7 separate regions of the Homo sapiens genome follow, and all the other regions are linked to region 1. The links are contacts of gene promoters, found by promoter capture Hi-C in blood cells and fetal thymus (Javierre and others, 2016). All regions are on one chromosome and are shown on one strand. Each heading gives the region's core, a stretch centred on a gene start or on the middle of the fragment in contact. The rest is flanking DNA. Distances are from core to core; before and after follow the strand shown.

What was found. The method cuts DNA at HindIII sites, captures the fragments that hold promoters and counts their contacts. A CHiCAGO score of 5 or more calls a contact.
Region 2: a fragment that was not itself captured here is called in contact with the fragment with the promoter of ACVR2A in region 1 in 1 of 17 cell types (endothelial precursors); the score reaches 5.1 in endothelial precursors.
Region 3: a contact is called between a fragment that was not itself captured here and the fragment with the promoter of ACVR2A in region 1, in 1 of 17 cell types (endothelial precursors). The highest score is 5.6, in endothelial precursors.
Region 4: a fragment that was not itself captured here is called in contact with the fragment with the promoter of ACVR2A in region 1 in 3 of 17 cell types (M1 macrophages, activated CD4 T cells and endothelial precursors); the score reaches 6.1 in M1 macrophages.
Region 5: a contact is called between a fragment that was not itself captured here and the fragment with the promoter of ACVR2A in region 1, in 1 of 17 cell types (M2 macrophages). The highest score is 5.8, in M2 macrophages.
Region 6: a contact is called between a fragment that was not itself captured here and the fragment with the promoter of ACVR2A in region 1, in 5 of 17 cell types (M0 macrophages, M1 macrophages, M2 macrophages and 2 more). The highest score is 9.2, in M0 macrophages.
Region 7: a fragment that was not itself captured here is called in contact with the fragment with the promoter of ACVR2A in region 1 in 1 of 17 cell types (total B cells); the score reaches 6.5 in total B cells.

What each region holds. Positions count from the first base shown.
Region 1 is chr2:147,843,555-147,846,948 of GRCh38, reverse strand. ACVR2A (activin A receptor type 2A) reads right to left here and starts at 1,920. Exons shown (of 11, transcript NM_001616.5): 1 at 1,742-1,920. The coding sequence starts at 1,796. RefSeq lists silencers at 1,479-1,558, 2,314-2,423, 2,504-2,693 and an enhancer at 2,820-3,394. The HindIII fragment of the contact is 3,923 bases long and covers 696-3,394 here.
Region 2 is chr2:146,878,376-146,881,769 of GRCh38, reverse strand. No RefSeq gene overlaps it. Among named protein-coding and RNA genes, the nearest start is that of LINC01911, 42 kb to the right of the region's middle. The HindIII fragment of the contact is 1,939 bases long and covers 655-2,593 here.
Region 3 is chr2:146,930,817-146,934,210 of GRCh38, reverse strand. All of the region lies in intron 2 of LOC107985824 (a long non-coding RNA gene), which reads left to right. Among named protein-coding and RNA genes, the nearest start is that of LINC01911, 95 kb to the right of the region's middle. The HindIII fragment of the contact is 1,113 bases long and covers 1,237-2,349 here.
Region 4 is chr2:147,036,473-147,039,866 of GRCh38, reverse strand. No RefSeq gene overlaps it. Among named protein-coding and RNA genes, the nearest start is that of LINC01911, 200 kb to the right of the region's middle. The HindIII fragment of the contact is 1,754 bases long and covers 935-2,688 here.
Region 5 is chr2:147,058,143-147,061,536 of GRCh38, reverse strand. No RefSeq gene overlaps it. Among named protein-coding and RNA genes, the nearest start is that of LINC01911, 220 kb to the right of the region's middle. The HindIII fragment of the contact is 6,225 bases long and covers 1-3,394 here.
Region 6 is chr2:147,090,902-147,094,295 of GRCh38, reverse strand. No RefSeq gene overlaps it. Among named protein-coding and RNA genes, the nearest start is that of LINC01911, 250 kb to the right of the region's middle. The HindIII fragment of the contact is 3,129 bases long and covers 123-3,251 here.
Region 7 is chr2:148,503,370-148,506,763 of GRCh38, reverse strand. All of the region lies in intron 12 of MBD5 (methyl-CpG binding domain protein 5), which reads right to left. Among named protein-coding and RNA genes, the nearest start is that of EPC2, 140 kb to the left of the region's middle. The HindIII fragment of the contact is 8,569 bases long and covers 1-3,394 here.

The sequences.
Region 1 (3,394 bases), core at 671-3,170:
CCTCCTTCATCAATTAGTGTGACTCAGGTGGGTTTGAGAGGGAATAATGTCCACAATTCCTTGGTCAGTGGCCATGATGCCCCTCCTCCTCAAGGGCAAGAGATCAGAACAAGGGATTTGAACAAGAGGAGTTCACCAGCCACAACATATAGAAGCAGAGGAAAAAAGAGTACTACTGGAAAGATAAAAACTACATGGTTAAGTCATGTCACAAAAGCAAGAGGTTTAATGTTATCAAGGCCTTCATTCATTTCAGACACACCATTGTTTAGCTTCCTTCCCAAACCGTGCACAAAAAGAACTGTCAGCCTGCCTTAAGCATGTTCCTTCTTCCATTTAAACAGACATGATTCTTTTGGTTAATCTCTGGCAATGATCGCCATTTCACAACACATTCAGCCCACCCGGAACTGATCAATACCACTACAGACATAAGACTAGACTTTATCCATTTATTAACCACAAGGAAATGTACCATTCAGCAAAATTCTATACATTACAAAAGATTATATTTAAAGGGGGGTGGGGAAGACGGACACAAACACACAAACACACACACACACACCCCACAGAGGTACACAAAGAAGACTACCACCCTTTAATTTTCCTGTGGCAAACGAGATAAAGACATGGCCATGAAACCTGTCAATTCGCCCCCGTTTCCAAGAGTCCCCCGTAATTCTATGCCACAAGCTTGTAACTGAATATTAAATTTTACAATAAATAGATCCAATGAGACTTATTTAAAATGTTTCATCTATTGAACTAACTCTCCTGTTATGTACATCTGCACACCTTTCAGCTAGATGCTGTATTTATTTATAGAATTTCAAATACAAAAGACTAGATAGTTTTTCCAACCACTGGTTGCAACCATAGAACGTCCTCACAAAATCAAAATTTCCAATATAAAATGGCCCGTTTATTCCCCCAACCTTGAGCTAAAACCTATTTTATGAGTGTACTATATTTAACAAAAACAATTTCACATGGGTTGTTCTAAACCGAAAACAATGCTTCAATACAAAGCGTTTAAAATAAGTATTCCGTAGGTAAGCAAAATCTATGCCCCAAAAGAGCACACAAATGGTGGTTGAACGCCAGCACATTACCAATACCAAGCGGCATACCTCTTCTGCACTGGGTTATAGTTAATACTCCAACAACAACTACAACTATTTTTAACACTGCTGGACGCTGAAGTTGAAGAAAACGTGAGGGGAGACCCAGATTAAATTGCTGATAGGATGTATTGTTTCCCACAGCCAAAATTAAGCAGCAACTGGCTTGATCTATGTCGTGATATTCACCGGTGAAGCACTAATTAAACGATGACAAAAAGCAACCCTTGTTTTGGAGGAGCCCACACTAAATACTCCTTTCAGATCTCAACCTTTGCATAAATTGTCACTTGTGGTATTTGCGGCTTAATTGCAACCCAACCAGCGCTGTCATCCAGTGTTATGGCCACAAAACATGACTTTCTCACTTCCACAACAACACAGCACTCACTCTTATCAGCTCGCCGACCCAACTCAAAAAGAGAAAAATGCATGGAGGTTTCCAGATCACAATCAGACCTGGGGGCGGGGGGGGGGGGCGGTGGCAGCCGAGGGGCGCAGGGAGTGGGCAACCTCCCCAGGCTCCACTGGACTCTCCGACTCAACACCAGCCGCGGCCCCCAGCAGCGGCCGCCGCGGCCGCAGGAGCAGCCCCACCGCGCCGCGCTCCCTGCACCTACCTGAAGAACAGGAGATAAGAAAGACGGCAAACGCCAACTTTGCAGCAGCTCCCATTTTCCCGAGGCGCCGGGGAATCCGGAGGAAGTTCTCGCTAGATATCCAGTTCCCTGGGTCTTCCTCGGAGACAAACCTCCTGGTGTAAAATCAACCGTCATAAAACATATTCGGAAGCCCAGACCAAAAAAAAAAAAAAAAAAAAAAAAAAACGCTCACTGGGTTAAAAAAAAAAAAGAAAAAAAAGAGCACAACGATAAAAAATAAAATGCACCACGGGGGAAAAACCGCCACACACACGCACAACACACAAAACCAAACAACGAAAAGCCAACAACAACAAAAGCGGGTTTAAATCACTGTCAAAATCACTGTCAGCTCCGCTCGCCTCTCCCGTCTCTCGGAACAAAACGCCAGGCTGAGGCGACGAAGAGGCGGCGGCGGCAGCGGCGTCCGCTGCCGCCCGGACAGTCTGGGAACTGACTGGGTCCGATGTCCGGACCGACCTTCAACCCAGACACCTAAAGTCCGAGGACCACTGGCGGCCGAGCTCGCGGCGGTGGCGGCGAGGCGGCTGCGGCGCGGGGAAGGGGCGGCGGGCGGCAGCGGCGGCGGCGGTGCAGGCGGCGGCCAAGTTCTGGTCCAGGCTCTGGCTCCAGCTCCGGGCTCCGGGCTCGGCCGCGTTTTCGGTCTCCTGGCCTCCGCCGGGCTCCGCCCCCCAAACTTCCGGTTCCGGCCCGAAGCTGGAAGCCAGGCGCAGCGGAGGAACGCTCGGCGGCAGCGGCGGCGGCGGCGGCGGCGGCAGCGGCGGCCGGGCGCAGCGCGCGTGCCGGGCCGGGAGCGCGAGGAGATTGTCGGGGAAGCGAGGCGGGAGCGGGGGAGGGGTGAGAGAGCGAGGGCGGGGCGGAGTGGAGGGCGAGGAGGCGGGGCGGACGGAGGCTCGATACCGCGAGGCCTCGGCGTCCGGCCTGCTTGGGCTAGAGATACCGCGACAAAGGGGCGCGGGCGCCTCAAAGTCCCTAAGCTGTGGCTGGGCTGTGGCCGGGCGAGTAGATGCGGGCTAGGCCGGGCACGACCCGTTTCCAAATCGCGTCCGACGGGCCTGTCTGGAGCGCCCACCCAAAGGGTCAGGAGAAGCCCAAGAGGAAGAGGACCCCGAGGTGGGGCGAGTGGCCAGGGACTTCTCCAAGGGGCGTCTGCGGCGCCCAGTCTTTCCTCTGGGGGGACGCCTCGTCCGCTCTGATACCGAGGAGTCGGTGGAAGGCGGACGTGGGAGCTGTTTCGCCGCGCCCGCCGAGCTGCCCAGGCGAGCTCGCGACGCGCGAGCTGGTGTGTGCGCCCCCAGACTTAGCACTGCGTCCCACCGCTGCAGCTTCTGCACACGCGTGCTGTCTTGGTGACTAGAAAAGAAAAAGAAAAAACTCACGGAGGAAGGGCTGTCCACCCGCTCAGGATATTCACGCCATTTATCACGATGCGCAACTTGAATCCATTCCCGCCGTTCCTTTTACACACAAAGCATTGTGTTGAAAACTGTTTTGCACGTAATAGGTGCGCAAATACTTGTTTACTGCGCTTTGAAGAAAAAAATGAGGATTTCGAACGACATATTTGATGATCAGACAAGTGATTACTTGTCAAAATTTTAGCTATTTAAG
Region 2 (3,394 bases), core at 375-2,874, 960 kb after region 1:
AGCACTGTGTTGGCTACTATAATGGATAGTGAGAAGTGTAAAATGATTATGAGAGGTGAAGCCAGCTGGACTTCCTGGGTCGGGTGGGGGCTTGGAGAACTTTTCTGTCTAGCTAGAGGACTGTAAATGCACCAATCAGCACTCTGGGTCTAGCTAAAGGATTGTAAATGCACCAATCAGCACTCTATAAAAACGCACTAATCAGTGCTCAGTGTCTAGCTAAAGGTTTGTAAATACACCAATCAGCACTCTGTAAAAACGCACCAGTCAGCACTGTGTGTCTAGCTAAAGGATTGTAAACACACCAATCAGTGCTCTGTAAAAGCGTACCACATCAGCATTCTGTGTCTAGCTAAAGGTTTGCAAACGCACCAATCAGGACTCTGTAAAAAATGGACCAATCAGCACTCTGTGTCTAGCTAAAGGTTTGTAAGTGCACCAATCAGCACTCTGTAAAAACGCACCAATCAGCACTCTGTGTCTAGCTAAAGGTTTGTAAATGCACCAGTCAGCACTCTGTAAAATGGACCAATCAGCACTCTGTAAAATGGACCAATCAGCAGGACGTGGGTGGGGCCAAATAAGGGAATAAAAGCTGGCCACGTGAGCCAGCAGCAGCAAACCGCTCTGGTCCCTTTCCAAGTTGTGGAAGCTTTTTTCTTTCGCCCTTAACAATAAATCTTGCTGCTGCTCACTGTTTGTGTCCTCACTACCTTTATGAGCTGTAACACTCACCACGGGGGTCTGTGGCTTCACTCCTGAAGTAAGCAAGAACACGAACCCACCAGAAGGAAGAAACTCCAGGCACATCTGAACACCTGGAAGGAACAAACTCAGGATACACCATCTTTAAGAGCTGTTAACACTCACTGTGAGGGTCTGCAGCTTCATTCTTGAAGTCAACGAGACCAGGAACCCACTGGAAGGAAGCAATTCTGGGCACAATTAGACTTACGCTTTAGGTTCTAATCCTAAAGATGATTAATATCTAGGAAGAAAGATAAGGAGAAAGTATTTAAACAGTAAAATTCAAGGCAGTAGATTTGAAAGGGAAAGAAAACAATTGGGTTGGGTTGTTCTAGAAAAATCTCCTTGGAGAAAGAAAACGTGAGACTTGGTAAAGACAAGGCTTGGTGCTTTTACAGTCATGTGTCTCATAATGATGTTTCAGTGAACAACAGACCACATATATGACAGTGGTCTGTCGGATTCTAATACTGTGTTTCTACTGTGCTTTTTCTGTGTTGAGATACACAAATACTTATTGTGTTAAAATTGCCTGCAGTATTCAGTACAGCAACATGTTGTACAGGTTTGTAGCTTAGAAACAATATGCTGCATCACATAGCCTAGGTGTGTAGTAGACTACACCATCTAGGTTTGTATAAGTGATGTTCATGTAGTGATGAAGTTGCTTAACAATATGCCTCAGAACATATCCCCATTGTTAAGTGATAGATTATTGTAGATGAGATGGCAGAGGCGTTCTTGACAGGAGCACTGAGGCAGAGTTGGAGAAACTGAGCAACAGAAGATAACCAATTTTAGCTAGAAGAATGGATTTATTAGAGCAATAGAGAAATCTCTTTGGAGCTAGTCCCCCCCCCCCCCCCCCCCGCCCAAAAGAATGTAGAAGGGCTGTGTAGTAAATGTAAGAAATTTAAAGGCCAGACGCGGTGACTCATGCCTGTAATCCAGCACTTTAGGAGGCCGAGGCAGGCAGATTATGAGGTCAGGAGATTGAGATCATCTTGTCTAACATGGTGAAACCCCATCTCTACTAAAAATACAAACCATTAGCCAGGCATGGTGGTACGCACCTGTAGTCCCAGCTACTCAGGAGGCTGAGACAGGTGAATTGCTTGAACCCGGGAGGCACAGGTTGCAGTGAGCCAAGGTCGTGCCACTGCACTCCAGCCTGGACAACAGAGTGACACATTGTCTCTAAATTAATTAATTAATTAAAGAAGTCTTTGAAATAATCACCTTTATATATAGAAACTAATACAATGTAGTTCAATAAATATTTATTGAATAAATGGAGAGATTATCACTGGATATTTATTATCAGTCTTATCGTAAAGGTACATATGGAAACAAAAATAGGCTAATCTATAGCAGATACATTTAGAGTAGAATTAGAGTCAAGATGAGGTGCTAAAAGAAAATGCAACTGCTCCTTCTGTGGCTACACATGCAAGAGATGGAAATAAGGTAGCAGTCCAATTATCTTCTTGTAGAATGAAAAACCCTAAGTTTTCTTGAACTTTCTCTTTTACCTAGTGCCTCCAAATTCCTGTTGCTTAGCACATGATCTTCCCTTCTGAAGAAAACCTTCTTTCTTCTCTCTGGAGGACAGATATCGATGTTGCAGGTCACCTTCTGAAAAGCCATCTCTTGATCCCTCTCAGGTAATGTTAATTACCTCCTTTTTTGCACAAACAAAGTAGGCACTGCTCTTGTTATATTGTACTTTCCAAAGTACGACTCATTCTTTCAAACGTTTATGTCTCATGCTTGAGTCTTTCTAAAAATTAATATCTCTATTCTTGGCACAATATATACTTGCCAAATATTTATTGAATTAAAAGCTTTCCAGTAACATAATGCCAATAACATAGAGGAAACTTACAAAACAAGCTATCCTTAGAAAATGAAAAATAAAAAAATGGCCAAAGGATTACTGGCCCTTTGATAATGGTTCCTTAGTATCTGCACAGAATAAAGAGGGAAGTGACAATTACAGCTTTACTTGGGAATTCTAGATTCAGCCATTTACTAAAATACTTTCATTTTATACATCTGTATTTCCTAATACATAATATATAATGTAGATATAGATCTATATTTCATATATCTATATGTATACACATGCATATATGTTCATATGTATACATTATGTGTATATATGCATGCATGCATGTGTATTATATATATAATATCAGTGATCTCTCTTTTTCTATACATATGCATTTTTAGTTGATGGGGTATCTGTAAAAATGCTGTGCTTCTGCCAGCCTAGCTTTCCAAACAGGTCTCATAGAAACAAATGAAATAATCAAAACAACTCCTGTCCCTCCTTCAGCCACACTATTAGTTACCTGTTGAGTAATTTATTTTGCTGAAGATTTCGGAATCCTAAGGTTTAGAAATGAACAATAAATAGATAATCTATAGAACAAATCATACAATAAAGTTGATAATTTAAAAGAAGAAAAGTACCCAGAATATTTCTACTTAAAGGTAAGCTTTTCATATCTTAGGGCATTTTACTTTGTTTTGTTTCACTCTGAAGATCCACAGCTAGCCTTCAAAGGTTTGTGGGCCCCATTGAAATCATATGCTACATTTTGCAATATGTACATTTTTCTTAGGAAAGGTTTCTGGCCTTTTT
Region 3 (3,394 bases), core at 544-3,043, 910 kb after region 1:
GAATTATAGTCTGATTTTTCACCACTTCTGCCAGTCATATATTTCACATTTTTTCACGTGCACTAAGTCTAATTCAAATGGATACCTTTTGTAGTCTCATTATTTTTTAAAATATGTAATTGACAAATAAATATTGAATATATTCAAAGTATACAGTGTAATAATATATGTATACATTGTGTAATATTTACCAAAATCAGATTAACGCACCCATTACCACCCATGCTGTACATTAGATACAAAGAACTTGTTAATCTTATGACTGAAAACAGCGTACCTTTTGACCAACAACTCCCCATTCTCCTACCCACCAGCCCCTGCCAACCACCATTTTCTCTGCTTCTATGAGTTTGACCTTTTTAGATTCCACATATAAGTGAGATCATAACGTATCTGTCTTTCTGTGTCTGGTTTATTACACTCAGCCTAAGATCCTCCAGGATCATCCATGCTGTCACAAAAGTCAGGATTTCCCAATTTTTTTAAGCTGATAATATTTCATTGTATATATGTACAGCATTTTTAAATTCATTCTTCTGTTGTTAGATACTTAGGTTGTTTCCATAGCTCGGCTTTTGTGAATAATGCTTCAGTGAACATGGGGGTGCAGATATCTTTTTGGAGATATTGATTTAATATCCTTTGGATATATACCTAGAGGTAAGATTACTGGATTTTATGGGAGGCTCTATTTTTAATTGCGGGAGGAACTTTCCTACTGTTTTTCATAATAACTGTACCAATTTACATTCCTACCAACAATGTACAAGGGTTTCCTTTTCTCCACACTCTTGCCAACACTTGTTATCTCTTGTTTATTTCGTACTAGCTATCTTAACAGGTATGAAGTGATATTTCATTGTGATTTTGATTTGCTTTTCTTTGATGACTAGTGATGTTGAGAATCTTTTCATTTGCCTCTTGGCCATTTACATGTATCCTTTGGAAAAAATGTCTATTCAGGTCCTTTGCTCATTTTAAAATCAGGTTTTTGTTTTTATTTTTGCTATTGACTTACATTAGTTTCTTATATATTGTAGATGTTAACCCCTTATCAAATATATGGTTTGCAAATATTTCCTCCCATTCCATGTGTTGCCTTTTCATTTTGTTGATTGTTCCTTTGCTAGGAAGAAGCTTTTTAGTTTGATGTAGTCTTACTTATTTTTTTCTTTAGTCACCTGTTCTTTTGGTGTTATATCAAAAAATAATTGCTAAGGCCAGTGTCTAAAAGCTTCTTCCCTATGTTTTCTTCTGGAAGTTTTATGATTTCAGAATTTACATGTAAATTTTTAATTCATTTTGAGTTAATTTTTGTGTGTGGTGTAAGACAAGGGTCCAATATTATACTTTGGTGTGTAGATATTCAGTTTTTCTAACACCATTGTGTATTCTTGGTATCCTTATCAAAGATTAGATGGTTGTATTATTTCTGGTCTCTCTAATTTGTTCCTTTGATCTATGTGAGTGTTTCTATGTCATTACATACTGCTTTGATTACTACAGTTTTGTAATATAGTTTGAAATTAAGAGTGTGCTGCCTCTAGCTTTGTTCTTCTTTCTCAAAGTTGCTTTTATTGTTTCATGTTTATAAACATAACGGATGACTCATAAGTATGTCCTCATGAAGACTACACACTTAGCCCGTTGGTTACTGGATAACGGAAAGTCATGCAGATATATATATATATATATATATATATATATATATATATATATATTCCTCCTTACGCCTCTTACTAGCTAGAAAATATAAATTTAGCCTAACCATATAAAAGTTAAAAAGTAAAAGTTAAAAAGTAAAGTTAAAAAGTAAAAAGTTAAAAAGTAAATAGAAAGTTAAAAGTTAAAAAGTAAGTAGAAAGTTAAAAAGTTAAAAGTAAAAAGTTAAAAAGTAAAAAGTAAAAGTTAAAAAGCTAAAAGTTAAAAAGTAGCTTAGCATCTTCTATATAATAGGATGTAAATAAAAGTTGAATTTAAAAAATCCACCTAATAACAAATACTATTTTAAATTATAAAAAGTAGAACCTCTACCTTTTTCAGTATGGTAATCTCCACTGCCATCAGCTTATTGTGAACAGGTACTTTGTAATGAACACATCAAAAAGATTGATTATGGGAAGTCATGTTTAAGATTTCTGAAATTGATAAATCTGTTTTTTAAACTATTTTTTAAACTCTGGCTCTTTCACTAGAGAAACTCCAACATTGTTGCCATTGTTATTTAAACTCTGTGTCTTATTGGAAACATTATTAATTTTTAAAAACAATGTGACTGTATTTTGAATAGAATTAAAAAATCACTAAAAGTAATTGGTGACTAATTTATGGACTACTTTAAATAAAGCTTTTGTAATATTTAATATTAATATACATGGTCTTCAATTGTTGAATTATAGTTTGATTTTTCACCCCTTCTGCCAGTCGTATATTTCACATTTTATTCAAATGGATACCTTTGGTAGTTCATTATTTTTTAAAAATATTTAATAGCTTTTTGTGGTTCTTGTATATTATTATTCTTTAAAAATCAAACCAAAACTCATATCCTTATCACCCAAAAAGTATATGTGAGGGAGCTTCAAGCGAAGACTGAAACTCAAATTGGTATTTTTCTAGATTCCTGGGGGAAAACAACAACAGTATATAAAGACCTATGGTTGCTAGGTTATGCAACTTTATGATTCACTTTTCTCTTTTGACTCTCAAACTTTTATAACTATATTTATATATTCTTATTCAGGCTTTAATTCACCTGGTGAATCTTTTTTTTTATTTTTTGGGACGGGGTTTTGCTCTGTCGCCCAACCTGGGGTGCAGTGGTACTGAAACGGAAAAGTTCCCTTATCCCCCTTGCAGGGCATGTGATGTGGGTGTGGCTTGTTTCTTCAGTGCTCTGCTGCTCAAACCTCTAGGGGAAGCACACAGATAACCAGGCTGTGGAGCCCTAACCCCGTGACAGTGTCTAGGGGTGAATGTTTACAGCTCCTGAAGCCCCAGTGGGCATGTGTTACAGGGTGCTCTTTTAGTTTTGTCGTGTATAGGTGGCTTGTCTTAACCAGTTCAATTAGACCCTCCACCTTATCAAAAGGACAGAGGGCTTTCTGTATTCCAGGTTCTTGCCTTGATGTACCAGAGGAATCAAATCACATTTGGGCTTGGAGAATGAGTGCAAGGTTTCATCGAGTGGAGGTAGCTCTCAGCAGATGGGGGAAGTCAGAAGGAGATGGAGTGGGAAGGTTTCCCTCTGGAGTTGAGCCTCCCAGCAGCCTGGGCTCTCCTCCGACTGCCTCAGCCAAACTCCACATTCTTCTGCTTCTGATGGTTGGTGGCCTGCCAGTGTGCTGGTGCCTGTCGGTTAGTTCCTCTCCATGTCCAGCCACCTGAGTGTTGT
Region 4 (3,394 bases), core at 562-3,061, 810 kb after region 1:
TTCTATTATATGTATTTATGTGTAGTTCTTTTCTGACCAGGAGCCTAGCTTGGCTTATAGGCTGGAGTGCAGTGGCACGATCTCGGCTCACTGCAACCTCTGCCTCCCGGGTTCAAGTGATTCTCCTGCCTCAGTCTCTGGAGTAGCTGGGAATACAGGTGCATGCCACCAAGCCCGGCTAATTTTTGTACTTTTAGTAGACACCGGGTACCATGTTGACCAGGCTGGTCTTGAACTCCTGACCTCAGGTAATCCGCCTGCCTTGGCCTCCCAAAGTGCTGGGATTCAAGCATGAGCCACCACGCCCAGTCATTTTTTAAATCGTGTACGGCCTCACTGTCTTTTTGAAGGTGGACATTGTTTCAGTGATGACTAAACCTTCCGTGGGTCCTTTAGACATCAACATAGAGAGATCACTGGAGTCTTAAGAAAGCAGAGTCTGAAATGAACACTATAAAAAACAGGCTTACAATTAAGTTTTAATTACACAAGGAAAGGCTAGGTTCTTTCTTCAGTAGATAGAAGCTTGGATTTTTGGAATTAGTGTCAAGGCCAGGGTAGGAATGGTATTTGTTGGAACACAAGGAGAAGGAAAGAGTAAATAGTCTTCTTTTCAAGTCAGTTTGTGGTCTCTTTGCTTATAGAGAAGCAAATGGAAGAGACAGCTGAGAGATGATCTCAATTAGTTTGGAAATCTATGAACAAACAAGTTGAATTATTTTCATCTCATAGACATCTTTAGCAGTGTCAGAGTAGTATTAAACAAAAGGGGAAAATGTTGCCTTTTTTGAATTGTTAAAGTTACCTAGAATTCCCTTTAGAATAAAATTTTTCCATGTATGAGAGAGGGTACATCTAGTGATTAAGAGCTTGGCTTAGAAGCTAGATTATGTAGATTCAAATTTTGCCTTTGCCTAATGACCTTGGGCAAGCTTCTTTATCTATAGTTCAATTTCCTAATATTATAATGGGGTTAAAAATACCATCCACCTCATAAGGTTGTTATGTGAATTAAAAAAGCAAATATTTGTAAAACAACTAGAATGCTGCCTGCCATATACCAAGCACCTTAAAAATGTTTTCTTAGTGAATGAAATGTTCAACCCTCTCTAATAAGATGGAAATTTTAATCTTAGCAGGAAAAGGAGGAGTGGCAGTGAAAGTAGCTTATACAGCATTATGCCAATGTAAGATGACATTGCTTATGATTTACATTGCATGAAAAGAGTTTAGATATACGTTTTGTGGGTGGTCTGTAAATTTTATTGAATGATTAAGCACTCTGCTTAGTATTTGGTCCGCATTGCTATTTTTCATATAGATTCTATTTTACTAAACCTTTTTATTAGATTTGAACAAATTATGGTCACAGTGGCTCCCAGGATCTTTTACCATAGAGTCTTGCTATAGGAAGCACTTAGATACAGGCATTAAATTGTCATTTATTGATAAGAAGCTAATCTTGGTGAATTAATTTTTTATTTATACATTAACCTTTAATAGTCATTTAACTTCAGAAATAATCATAGGCCTATGGTCTTTCAATCTTCCAGTTAAGGTATTCTAAAATCAATCTTTTCATTTCCAGAAATAAATCCAGTGTGATCACGTCATTTCCCTGTTTAGAGCTATTTAGGATCTCTCCATCCACACAAAATAAAATAAAGTGTATTAGTTGGCACACAAGGCCTTTAATGATGAGGTCCTATCCTTTTTGGCCTAATCTTTTAGCATTTTTCCCCTGTCTCTTCACTTTAGTTCTAGAAATACCAAACTTACCAGGAGTTTATACTTTCATCTTTGCATCTGACAAAAGCTGTTCTCAGTACCTGTAATGTTTTTTCCAACTCCTCACTCTCTTCTTTCTACCTCTCCTCTTAGCCCATGTGTCACATCTTTACACTTTAGCTCTCTTTAACAAAACTCCTAGGGATACTTAAGCTCCTCATCCGTGTTACCGTTTTAATAAAAATAAGCTAACCTTCTACAGTGCCTGCTATGTACGAGGCTGTATTCCCATTGGTTTACATATATTAATTCATTTAATCTTCATAATAATCTTGTGAGGTTGATATTTACCCATTTCACAGACAAGGAAACTGAATCGCCATATGGTTAAGTAAATTGCTCAATGTCTTCCTGCTGGTTGGTTACAGAACCCAAATTTGAGGTGTACTGCACTACACTAAAATGGATACATTTTTATATTTTTCTACTTATCACATATTTGTGTGTGTGTATATATATATATACACACATACACTCTTTGTTCTAATAAATGCCTTCACAACCTACCAACATTCTCAATATTAGAGATACTCAGTGTTGGTAAGATGATTGTTCATTCATTAAAAATATTTAAAAATTAGTAAGTGCATTAAATCCAAAGAAACTCATGTGCTTTCTCAAATCTCCATTTTTCTTTTTCATCTTCTATGATTTTAGATTAATAAAAAACCTAGCAATTATCTTGCTCACTGTTTTCTTTTCAATATATGTGAAACTTTGCAGTTGAACTAGAGACTGGGCCTCCTGTATCCTCTTTTAACTTGACATTATCAACCACTCCCTTCTTTAGACATCTTTTTATTCTGACCACAATAGTCTCAACCACTACTGAGCTTGCATGTGATTATAAACACGTATTTCCTCTACCTTGAAGACATAACTAGCTCTGCTTTTTAAGCTTCTAGCCAAAGGGGGAAGAATTGAGATCAGAATGAAACCTAGGGCCGGGCATGGTAGCTCATGCCTGTAATCCCAGCCCTTTGGGAGGCCGAGGCAGGTGGATTGCCTCAGCTCAGGAGTTCCAGACCAGCCTGGGCAACATGGTGAAACCTCGCCTCTACTAAGATAAAAAAAGTTGGCCAGGTGTGGCGGTGTGTGCCTGTAGTCCCAGCTACTCGGGCGGCTGAGGCAGGAGAATTGCTTGAACCCGGGAGGTGGAGGTTGCAGTGAGCCGAGATTGCACCACTGCACTCCAGCCTGGGCAATGGAGTGAGACTCTGTCTCAATTAAAAAAAAAAAAAGAGAGAGAGAGAGAAAAAATGAAACCTAGAATTTTGCTACTCTCAAAAAAGTCTTTCAGTAACATAGTACTATGATGTTTTAATTTTGAAGTAACATTTTCCAGTAGAGAAAGTCATGTATAAGATGACAGTAAACATCAGCACGATGTAGGTGACTTGATTACTTTGCTCTATTATTAATTCCCATGTTCCTATATATATTGCATTTTCCTTTATATCTGATTGATTTTCTTTCAGGTGTTAAATAGTGATATGGTTAGGCTCTGTATGTATGATTGTATGATTACATATGTAATTGTATGATTACAATTGTATGATTGTATGATTGTACAATTGTATGATTGTATGATTACAATTCTCATCTT
Region 5 (3,394 bases), core at 595-3,094, 790 kb after region 1:
AAGTCAACATTGCTGGGCTCTCCTTTGTTGTGGAGAATCCAGGTGAAATGTCAAGTCCAGAAGAGTGTGAATAATAAGCCAGAGAAAGTTCCTGCTGTGTGAGAAGGGTGAGGTTAGGGTGAAAGAAGCAGGAAAGCTGGGGAGGCTGGATGCCAGGAAGATTTTTGGAGGACTCCAATGAGAGATTGTAGGTATGAAAGAGATATTGGAGGATAAATGTCAAAGGGGATTATAAATGGGGATACCCTAAAGTTATGTACACATGTGCCTTTTTCTAGGGAGAATATCTGTATCTTTCATAACCTTTTTAAAAGGCTCTAATGATCCAAAAAATATAAAAAGGTATTGACGTATATTGAGTCATATGAATAAATATTCTGGTCTCAAAGAACTATCAATAGGAGCTATAGCCTGTCCCTAGAAACATTGCAACGAATGGAGAAATGTTCAGCATATATATGTACATAAAAACACCCATTTGAATAATATAGGATTTGTACGTCTGAGCTGTATCATTCACTCTTTTGACCTTCCTTGTAGTAGGGAAGTGGGACAAATTAGAAAACCAGATTAGTGATTACCTACCATGTAATAAGCCTTAAAGAAAGTATGTATAAATAAGGCCACATTTACATGTATGTTGAAATAATGATGGTCCAAAATCCTCATCTGCTTTACAAATTTGATCTCCAGTTCTTTCTGGAAGTTTTCTCCTCCAATTTTTTCAAAACCTCCAGGGCTTGAGATTGGTGCCTACATAATAATTCTCTGCATTTTCTCTACAGCCAAAGTAGAAGCTGAACTGTAGTCAAAGACTGAGCTGCAACAACACTGACCTTTCTGAAAGCCACATGGAGGTGCCAGAACCTTAAGTGGCCAAAACTTGTTAACCCTGGTTGTAGCATCAAAATCCTCTCTTCTTCTGCTGGCAAGAGCCAATGCTGCCTTTTACTGACAGCTCTGTGGAGTGGTTCTTGCGTCTTGGGTTATTTCCTGCCATTGCCATTGCAATGCAAATTTTATAAGAGATATTCCAATACTTTGCTCATTCAGTTTTGACAAAATAAAAGGCTGTTTGTTACTTCTGTCTGTTTATTAAGTTGTGTCCCACAGTGAACCTGTCTAGAGTGCAGACAGCTATAGTTTTTTAGTGACACTGCTCTCCAGATCATGCGTGTGTGCACACACACACGCACACACACCTTTTTTTCCAAAGGCACATCTGATACTCCAGGGTGACAGAATTATGGGGTTCTCTTTAAGCCACATGGTAGGCTCAGAGCCTATACTCCTCTACCTTCCTCATCCTGGAGGGCTATTTTTAATTCATTGGTCCCTACTCCTTACCCCGTAATGTGTGCTCCTTCTTAGGAGTCCATTACTATTTTCCTGAAATCTCACTTCCATCCAACAACTATTCCACTGGACATGTATTTCTACACATGTATATCTCCATGGAGTCCTTGAGCCATGGCCTGACTCCTGGAGGAATGAAAGGAGAGTATTAAAAATAGCTTCACTTCCAGGTCTCCTGTGTAAATCAGTGGTTGAAAATCAATATTTAACAGAATTAGCTAAAGATCTAAGCTACGATACAAATGGATGTTAGGGAGGGGAGCAGTCTAACTTTACTGTCCAACAGTACTGAAGCCTCAGGCTCTTGATTAAGCAATTTTACAAAAGAAAACCTTCCAAATATGATACCATTTGTTCTTTTGCATTAACAAAAGTATTAGATGTAATTTCATTTTTGGCTTCTCAGTCTGTTTGACTAATTGTCTTTATACTGTTATCATTCATTTTTATATTTGGCAAATATACCCTTCTCATAATTTTATCTGGATTAATTAAAAATTAATTGAAAATACATTGTTAAATATAATTCTTATTGCCTAATAATTTCAACCAAGGTCTAAATTATTTTTTCTTTAAATAAATTATTTCTATTTTTAGGGAAAAACCTTCAAAACCTTTATTCCTTTTAATACAGAGGACAAAGGGAAAATATAAACAAATCTGTAAGAATTACAAGGTGGTCTAATATCTAATATTTTAATAAACTACTACCAGAAACCTCTATCTCAGAAAAGCTATCTTACTAACATGCAAAAAACATTATAATGAATGTCTATTATGCGTTGCTTAGAGGGAGGATGCATTTGAATACTTAAAATATTCAGTGGACTCAGAGTAACTGATGTTTTAGGGTTCCACTAAGTGAGTCTGAAATGTTTCAGAGCTCAGTGAAAGTAGCTTTACCTCTCAGGTTTCAGCTTTGTAAAGAATAAGGACTTGTGTAGGCTCCATACATCATTGTTTTGTAGAGGGTGAATTGTGTCCTGGTAGAATTTTCTGAGGCTAATGCATGTGAATCAGCTTCATCTGATCTTCCACGGTAGTTTCAGGGTCTGTGGAGGGTTCACATGATGGATGGACCACTCCATACCTTTAGGAAACCATCCTTACAGGGTTGACAAGAATTGCATGCCAGATACTGATCAGAAATATAGTTATAATTAAAGATTAATTAGGCTGCACTTTGGCCCACTTCCTTGTTGCTAAAAGTCAGGCAGCACTAGATACTGACCATTTGCATCTCCATTATTTCTATTGATAGGATTTCTGACATTAGGATTTTAAGGCTGTTTAAGAATTGATTTGCATTCCCATGGTTCCTATAGACAGGATCTGTGACAGTTTGTTTAAGAGTTGCATGAGATGTTTTTCAGATCCTGAATTCCAACAACCAGTTTGAAGACCCTCACAGAGGAACAGGATCAGCATGAAAATACAGCTTCTTCATTTTCCTGTCTTCAGGAAAGTGACTTCACCTTGCGCTCTGTGACCAATCAAGGGTCTCCACACTTTAGTCCACTCCAAAACCCTTAAAAACCCTACCCCTAAACTCCTCAGGGACATGGATTTGAGGTTTTCTCTTATCTCCTCTTTCAGTGACCCTACGATTAAACATTTTTCTCTGCTGCAACCTGGTGTCTCGGCTTTGTGACTTGCTGTGTGCATCAGGCAACGAACCTAATATGCTTACATTTATTCAACTAATATAAGGAAGGCGGCATGGGGAAAATGTTTGTTGGCTTGGTCATCTGCCTTTGTTATTATCTGCATCAGAATTAAGAGACATAGTTTTATGGGAGGCAGTGAGTTCTGAAACCGGTTGGGCCCTAGCATCTCTGTTGCTGTTTCTGGGCATGAAACTGAGCCTGGGCTCTGGGAACTCTTAGGGAAGGAAATGGAGGGTGAAGAAGCCCCTTGTGATCCAGGAAGTTGCGAACAGCACATGCTTGTCTTCTAATTTCTTCCTTTCCCTTTTACCCTTTAAGCATTTTTAAAACCTTTGCTTTGTTGTTGTCATTGTTACTGACTAATCAGATAT
Region 6 (3,394 bases), core at 438-2,937, 750 kb after region 1:
TAAATGTCGTAGGAGTTAAAAGTCAGGAAGCTGAAAACGGGACCACCTAAGGCATTGTGAATTCTTTCTCAATAGGAGTCTTTGTCTGACTGGCATAGCTATTTGCTTGACATAAGAAAGCTTTTTACTATAGTATATTTTAAAGAAAGGCATTTTCTGTTAGCACTCATTTCCCTAAAGGAACTTTTTATTGGGAATCTGGGATGAAACACTATTCTTAAGGTATATACCCAGTGTGGATAAGTCACATTTCATTCTTGTTTACAAGGACAGGGTTCTGCATAAGCCCATATGGCACCATGTGGACACGTTAAAGGCAACATTTGTTTCATAAGTTACTCTTTAATGTACTAAATAAGAGCCCCAGTGACTTGAAAGTTCATGTCTTTCTCAATTTCAGTATAAGTGGTATACTCTATTCTTAGTCCCTGTAAAAGGTTTTCTTCTTTAGGGAGGACATGTTTGCTAGCAACAAAAGATGCTCTCTCAAAACCATCTAGATCTCAAATATTTATATAGTTAAGAAAATATCTGGAATGAAATATTTCCAGCCATTGTCTTGATGTACTGCATTAAAAATATCATGCTAAGTCTAATTAGTTACACATGTAGAAATAAATGTGGGACTCAGTAATTTAAGATTTTTGTGCACTTTTTATAATGAGAATAGGGAATAGAATTTCTCAATAGGGAACAGGAGTAGGGGTCTGTAAGCCTGCAATTATATAGAATAGCCCTGGAGTTTATGAGCAGATGCAGTTATATGGTTAGTCCCAAGACTCACTGAAAGTCAAGACAGACTTAGGTATTACTACCTTTAGTTAGAGGAGGATGTATATATACATATCTTATAGAAACAATGTTTTTATTTCCCCTCCATGAAGATTTTGTTGCTATTAGCTTCAAAAACAAATGAACAAGACACAGACATGTAGTGGTAAGTAAGATGCAAAAATCTTACTTGGTCGAACTTCATGAGGTTTTGAAATTTATTTATGTTAGGAAAAGAGAAAATTAGGCTAGCATTGTGTACCAAACATGACCCACTGGCAAATGTATGGCATTTTTTTCTTTAGTCATGATGAATTATTTGTTTAAATTAAATATTTTTTTTACCTCATTTGATGTAGTAAAGGAAAATGTGTTTGAATTGCTTCAAGAATGTCAGGAGATTGGTATGGCAGATTGACTGCAAAAAATGATTACAATTATTCCCCGCACTCCCATATATTCACCTCTTGCAAAGTGACTTTGCATTTCCTCTCATCAGAACATGATTTCTTTCTTCACCCTTAAACTGAGATGGCCTCATGGTTTGCTTTGGCCAACAGGATATGGCAGAAATGATGATGTGCTGATTCTGACCTTAAACCTCAAGAATCTTTGTGTGCCTCTGCTGTTCTTGGACATTTATATCCACCATGAGAATAAGCCAGGCCTGTCTGCTGGAGGGCAAGAGACCAAATGGAACAGAGTTAGTCAGCCCAACTGAGGCCTTCCTTAACTGGCCAACTCCTAGCCAACCTGTACCTGATCACAGACACATGCGTAAGCTCAGTCCACATCAGCCAATTTAGAACCACCCAGCCAGCCCACAGACTCCTGAACAAAACTGAATGGTGTGGGTGTCCCTGAGGTTTGTGTTTGCTTATTACATAACATTGTTGTGGCAAAGATAAATGATAAAGTAAATATTTTCATGTGTTGACACTTTCAATCATGATACAGAAGCCCCTCTTGTTATGAAACTTTCACTTAAAAATGTACATAGATAAATGAAATGCTACATTCCAAAGAAAAAATGTGTCAACTTTGCTTTCCACCAACATAGTGTACTATGCCCTGCGTATAGTAGCTTATTGAACCTACCAACACATAAACTTATAGGTAGCCTTTCAGAAGACAATCTGTTTGTGTGGTCCCTCTTAAGTTAGCCAAGATTTCCTCTTTTCTTTTTTTTGAGACGGAGTCTTGCCCTGTCTCCAGGCTCGAGAGCAGTGGCGTCATCTTGGCTCACTGCAACCTCCACCTCCTGTGTTCAAGTGATTCTCCTGCCTCAGCCTCCCAAGTGAGTAGCTGGGACTACAGGCACCCGCCACCATGCCCAGCTAATTTTTGTATTTTTAGTACAGACGGGGTTTCACCATGTTGGCCAGGATGGTCTCGATCTCTTGACCTTGTGATCCACCTGCCTTGGCCTCCCAAAGTGCTGGGATTACAGGCCTGAGCCACCACACCCGGCCATAGATTTCCTTTCTATGTAATATAAACTGCAAAAAATGAAATATAAACCCAAATTATTTTATAAATTAGCTAATATTTCTTTCCTACTAAGACATGAACCTCTCTCCAGGTTTTTTGATACTCATTGTTCTTTCCTCTCTTCCTACTGCTGAAATCATGATAAAATGTTGCTCTAAGGAAGAATTTATCCTTTGGAAGGAGGTATTTTATACATCTGATAAACCATAAGGTTCCTTCTAGTGCAAAGCCAGACAAGCAAGTAAGCCATTTTTACAGGAGAATTTACTTTTTAGAGCAGAATGTGGGCTGATTTAACAGTCTAGAAGACAAAAAAATGAAACTAGCTGAACAGGTTAAACAATGGTTTAGCTGGATAAAGTAGAAGCCAAGGGAATCTGGAGGAGTATCTGAAACCCAGAAGACATTCAAAAACTATGAATTCATAATGAGGAAGTGGCTTCTCCAGTTTTCTTACTAATTTTTTATGAAGAACGTTAGAACTCATAATTCAGTGATTTTGTCTTTTATTTTAAAAAGATGCTAAAACAATGATTGATCCAATTACATTAATTGACAATAATTAGTAATAAAAAGTGTGATCTCTATTTCTGTGCATTTTGTGGGTTCAGTTGGAAAGATGGAAAACACTGGCATAGGGCAAAGTAAGGAACTTTACCAAATAATTCAGCAACACAAGCAAGTAAGTACTGGAAAAATCAAATCCATGGCATTCCAAAATAAAGGAGTTAACAGGCAGGTATGGGATTGTACACGAAGTGTAACTTAGCTAGAAAAGCTAAGCTCTAGTGTGTGTATTTGCAGGGGGAGGAAGAGGAGGCTTAAGAAAGTGAATGTCAGTCTTTTTCAGTAGGTAGAAGTACATCAAATCCCTCGAATTATACTTAGTAAGTGAAAGAAGCACTTTGCAATTTACACTCAGTCTCTTAGCCTCTGGAAGGAGTTTATGCAGCTTTCAAAGGTAAATAATTTAGACCCAAGGGAAAGCTTACACATTGAGAGGATCTGCTCCAATGTTTGAGATGCTTCTGGGAACATCACTTTCTTAGACAGTAGAATACTAACAAGCCAGTAGTGGGAAAGTGAAAATTAACTTACAGGCGACACTAGAATTGCCAACTACTTTGCCTCT
Region 7 (3,394 bases), core at 462-2,961, 660 kb before region 1:
CTTGATTAAGTAATAGATGTTCATATAATCACATTTCTAATTATTAATGGAGATAATTGCCACTTCTCAACTTCATTGCCTACACTGTCACACATTATCTTTATCTTCACTAATTTTTTAAAAAGCCAGGTACACCTCTATGAGTAGTACAAGAAATAGAAGGGAAATGAGAAATTGCAAGTTGTTCTACACTGTCAGTTCAGAGTTTAAGTGACTCACTTCATACAGTATGTAACAAATTTGGGTGAGACCTAAAAGTCAAAAACCCTGAGCTCTGAAACTGAATCCATGGGGAATGTATGCAGATCTCAGGAAATTTAACATGGTAAGTATCATTCCTTGGTTTTAAAGTGAAAATGTGATTTACTTAATCACTTTATTGTTTTCCAGCTTCACAAAAAATCAGGTTTCCCAAGAAATGTATACGTACATATAGACAGAAGATTTGCTCCTCGCTTAAATGAAAACTATAACATATGTAAAAGCTGTGGAATTTTTCTTTAATAAAGCTATTTCTGCTTTTAAGTACAAAATTGCCCTAAGTAATGTATTAAATAAATATGTTACTACTAGGATATAATTAGAACATATGTTTAAAGATATTTATTTGTTGTACAGTTTGATTGAGGATACTGAGGATTAAAATGACTATATAAAATACCAAACATCTAATATGGTGGTAGAATGTTTCAACTGGCAAAAATAACAGATAATTTTCTTTCTTTCACCTGTATCTTTATAAGAAAAATAGCTATTTACTAAATGCCATGTGCCAAGTACTGTGCTGAGGCTCTCTCTATATTATCTATGTTATAACAATCCTAAAATAGGATTATGCCCATTTTAGAAATGAAGAATTTAGGCCCAGGGAGATTACGAACACACAGCTATGAAGTGGTAGAAACAGGACTTGAGTCCAGGTGAAAAACCAACCTCTTAATTATCTTGCTCCAAATGACACCTTCCTTTTTCAGCCTTTTCCTCTTTTCTTCTTCCCCTCAGTCTACAAAAGTAGTCAAATCTTTGTCATTTTAAAAATTCTTTCTTCGTTATTTTTCAGGAATTTTTCACATTATGGGTAGAAAGAAGAGTAAATAATCTACATCTCCTCTCCCTATTTCCTTATTCTTATTTAATAGCCATTTTGTGTGTATACCCATCACTCTACTGGAAACTGTTCTCACTGAAGTTTACCAGTGACCTTCAAATTGCCCAATCTGATGGGGATTTTTCAGTTCTTGTCTTACTGCACCTCTGTTGATCATTTTATCAGTCTTTGACTTCTGAGACTCTGTCTACTTTCCCTGATTCTCCTCCTCCTCACTGACCATTCTTCCCATCTTCTTCATTCTATTGCATGTTCAATCCTTAGCCTACTATTCTTCAAATTGGTCAAAGTATCTTTGTGTGACTGCAGTCATTTGTATACTGTCAAATACCACTTCTCCCCAGTTTCAGACACGTATGTCCAGCCTATCCTACAGGCACCCCAAACTGTACTGAACAGCTTCCCCCTGTAACCTCCACTTCAGTCAGTGTTTCTACAACCTACCAAGTCTCCCAAGCTGAAAACCTGAGAGCTGTCCTTGATTTTGTTCCCTTTCCTTTACATTCTGATCAATCACCCCATGTTCTGTCTATTTTACCTCCTAAGTATTTCTTGACCACATTCCTTCTTTTCCATCCTCATCCCCAACTCCACCAGCTCCTGGTTTGGGTCCTCGTTCTCCCTTGTATTCTGCCATGGCTCCTGAACAATCTCTTCATCTTCAATATTGTTGCCTTAAAATTGTCCTTGTACACGGCCATACCTAAGGTGAAAAATCTGACCACCTGCCCCCTTTAGGCACTTCCAAAACAATAAAACATCCTATTGGTCCTTACTAGGCCCTTCATGATCTGGTTCCCGCTTATACCTCTTATATCTTCCCATCCGATACTTTACAGTCCCCCAAATCCAACTGCTGCTCTCATCTAAACACTATCCCACCCCATCTTCGTCTTTGTTTCCTTTGTGTGGCTGATGCCTATGTAGTGTTTAAGGCTTGGCCCACATATCTTCTCCTCTAGGAACCCTTCCTTTACCTGCCTTTTCCCTGTGACCCAAAAATATAGTATATATATTGCTGTTGTTGCAATTTTGACATTTGAATTACTTGTTTCTGCATCTGTCTCTTTCACTAAACAGTGAGCTTCAGGGACTGTAGCACTGTTCCTGGCACAGATTTTTTTTGCTAAATTTGTCTTCTTAAATTGGGAATAAATGCATAAATTAAAAAATGATTTGGTTCAACATATAATTTATCAGTTGTGGGACTTTCAACTAATTATTTAAAGTGTTTGAGTCTGAGTGTCCGCATCTGCAAATGGCTCAGTAATTTTGACCCATCTCGTGACTGGGAGAATAAAATGATGAATTTGCAATTACATGTGCAAAATGTAAAGCATTCTACTGGGCATCGAAAAGGAAAGTCTGTCTGCTTAGACAATAGTATGGTAAATAAAGTTCTTTTTATAAATGTTAGTTTTGTATTTTCTACTTTTACTTCTCCAAACTGTACTTTAAGTTTATGGTTATCATGAGGAGAATTCCTTTAGATAGCTCTCACATTAATTTACTACAAATAGGAAATTGGCTTTGAAGAAACATTTTTAAAATTGTAGTTTGTTTTTCATTACCTTTCAGAAATTGCTTAATAGCAAATACATGGGGAAAATACAGCTCATTTCAAGGCAGTGTATTTGAATATTTGGAGGAGTTATTTTATTTCTGTTATTAACTTTATTTTGTACATAATCCAAGTAACTGGCATGTTTCACTGTAGGAAACATTTTCAGGGCTCCTTTACACCAAAGAAATGGGTACTGTTGAATAGTTTACAGCAACTGGCCCACTGCAAATTTGTGGTGTAGGTAATTTGCAATTTTCCTTCTTTTATCCAGACCTTGTATTAATTTTAGTGGCCTTATCTTGTTGCTAAGCTCTGCATAGCAAGTGTGCTTCAGTAAGAGTAGAAGGGACCTTGATCCCTGTTTTCCTTATCAGGTCTAGAGGGATGTTATCCGGCAATTAACTTGGCCTTTCACACAGCCAGTACCAATTTGCTACCTTTTAAAGGAGTCCGGGACATAGAGACATAGGAGTTTGCCCCTTGCAGCTGTCATCTTTTCAGATACCTTTTATTGAGGTGAAGAGTCTTCCTAAGATTTGTTGACTTCTAAAATTATGCCTCTGGCCAGAATTATGGGAAACACCATAAAGTGAAAGAGAATGCTTTTTAATAGATATTACTGATATCATTATATAAGCCTTCTATGCAAGATACACTACGAATCATTCTGATCTCCACTTTGTAAGTCTTGATGTACAAACAGAAGTTAAAATGGTATTTTT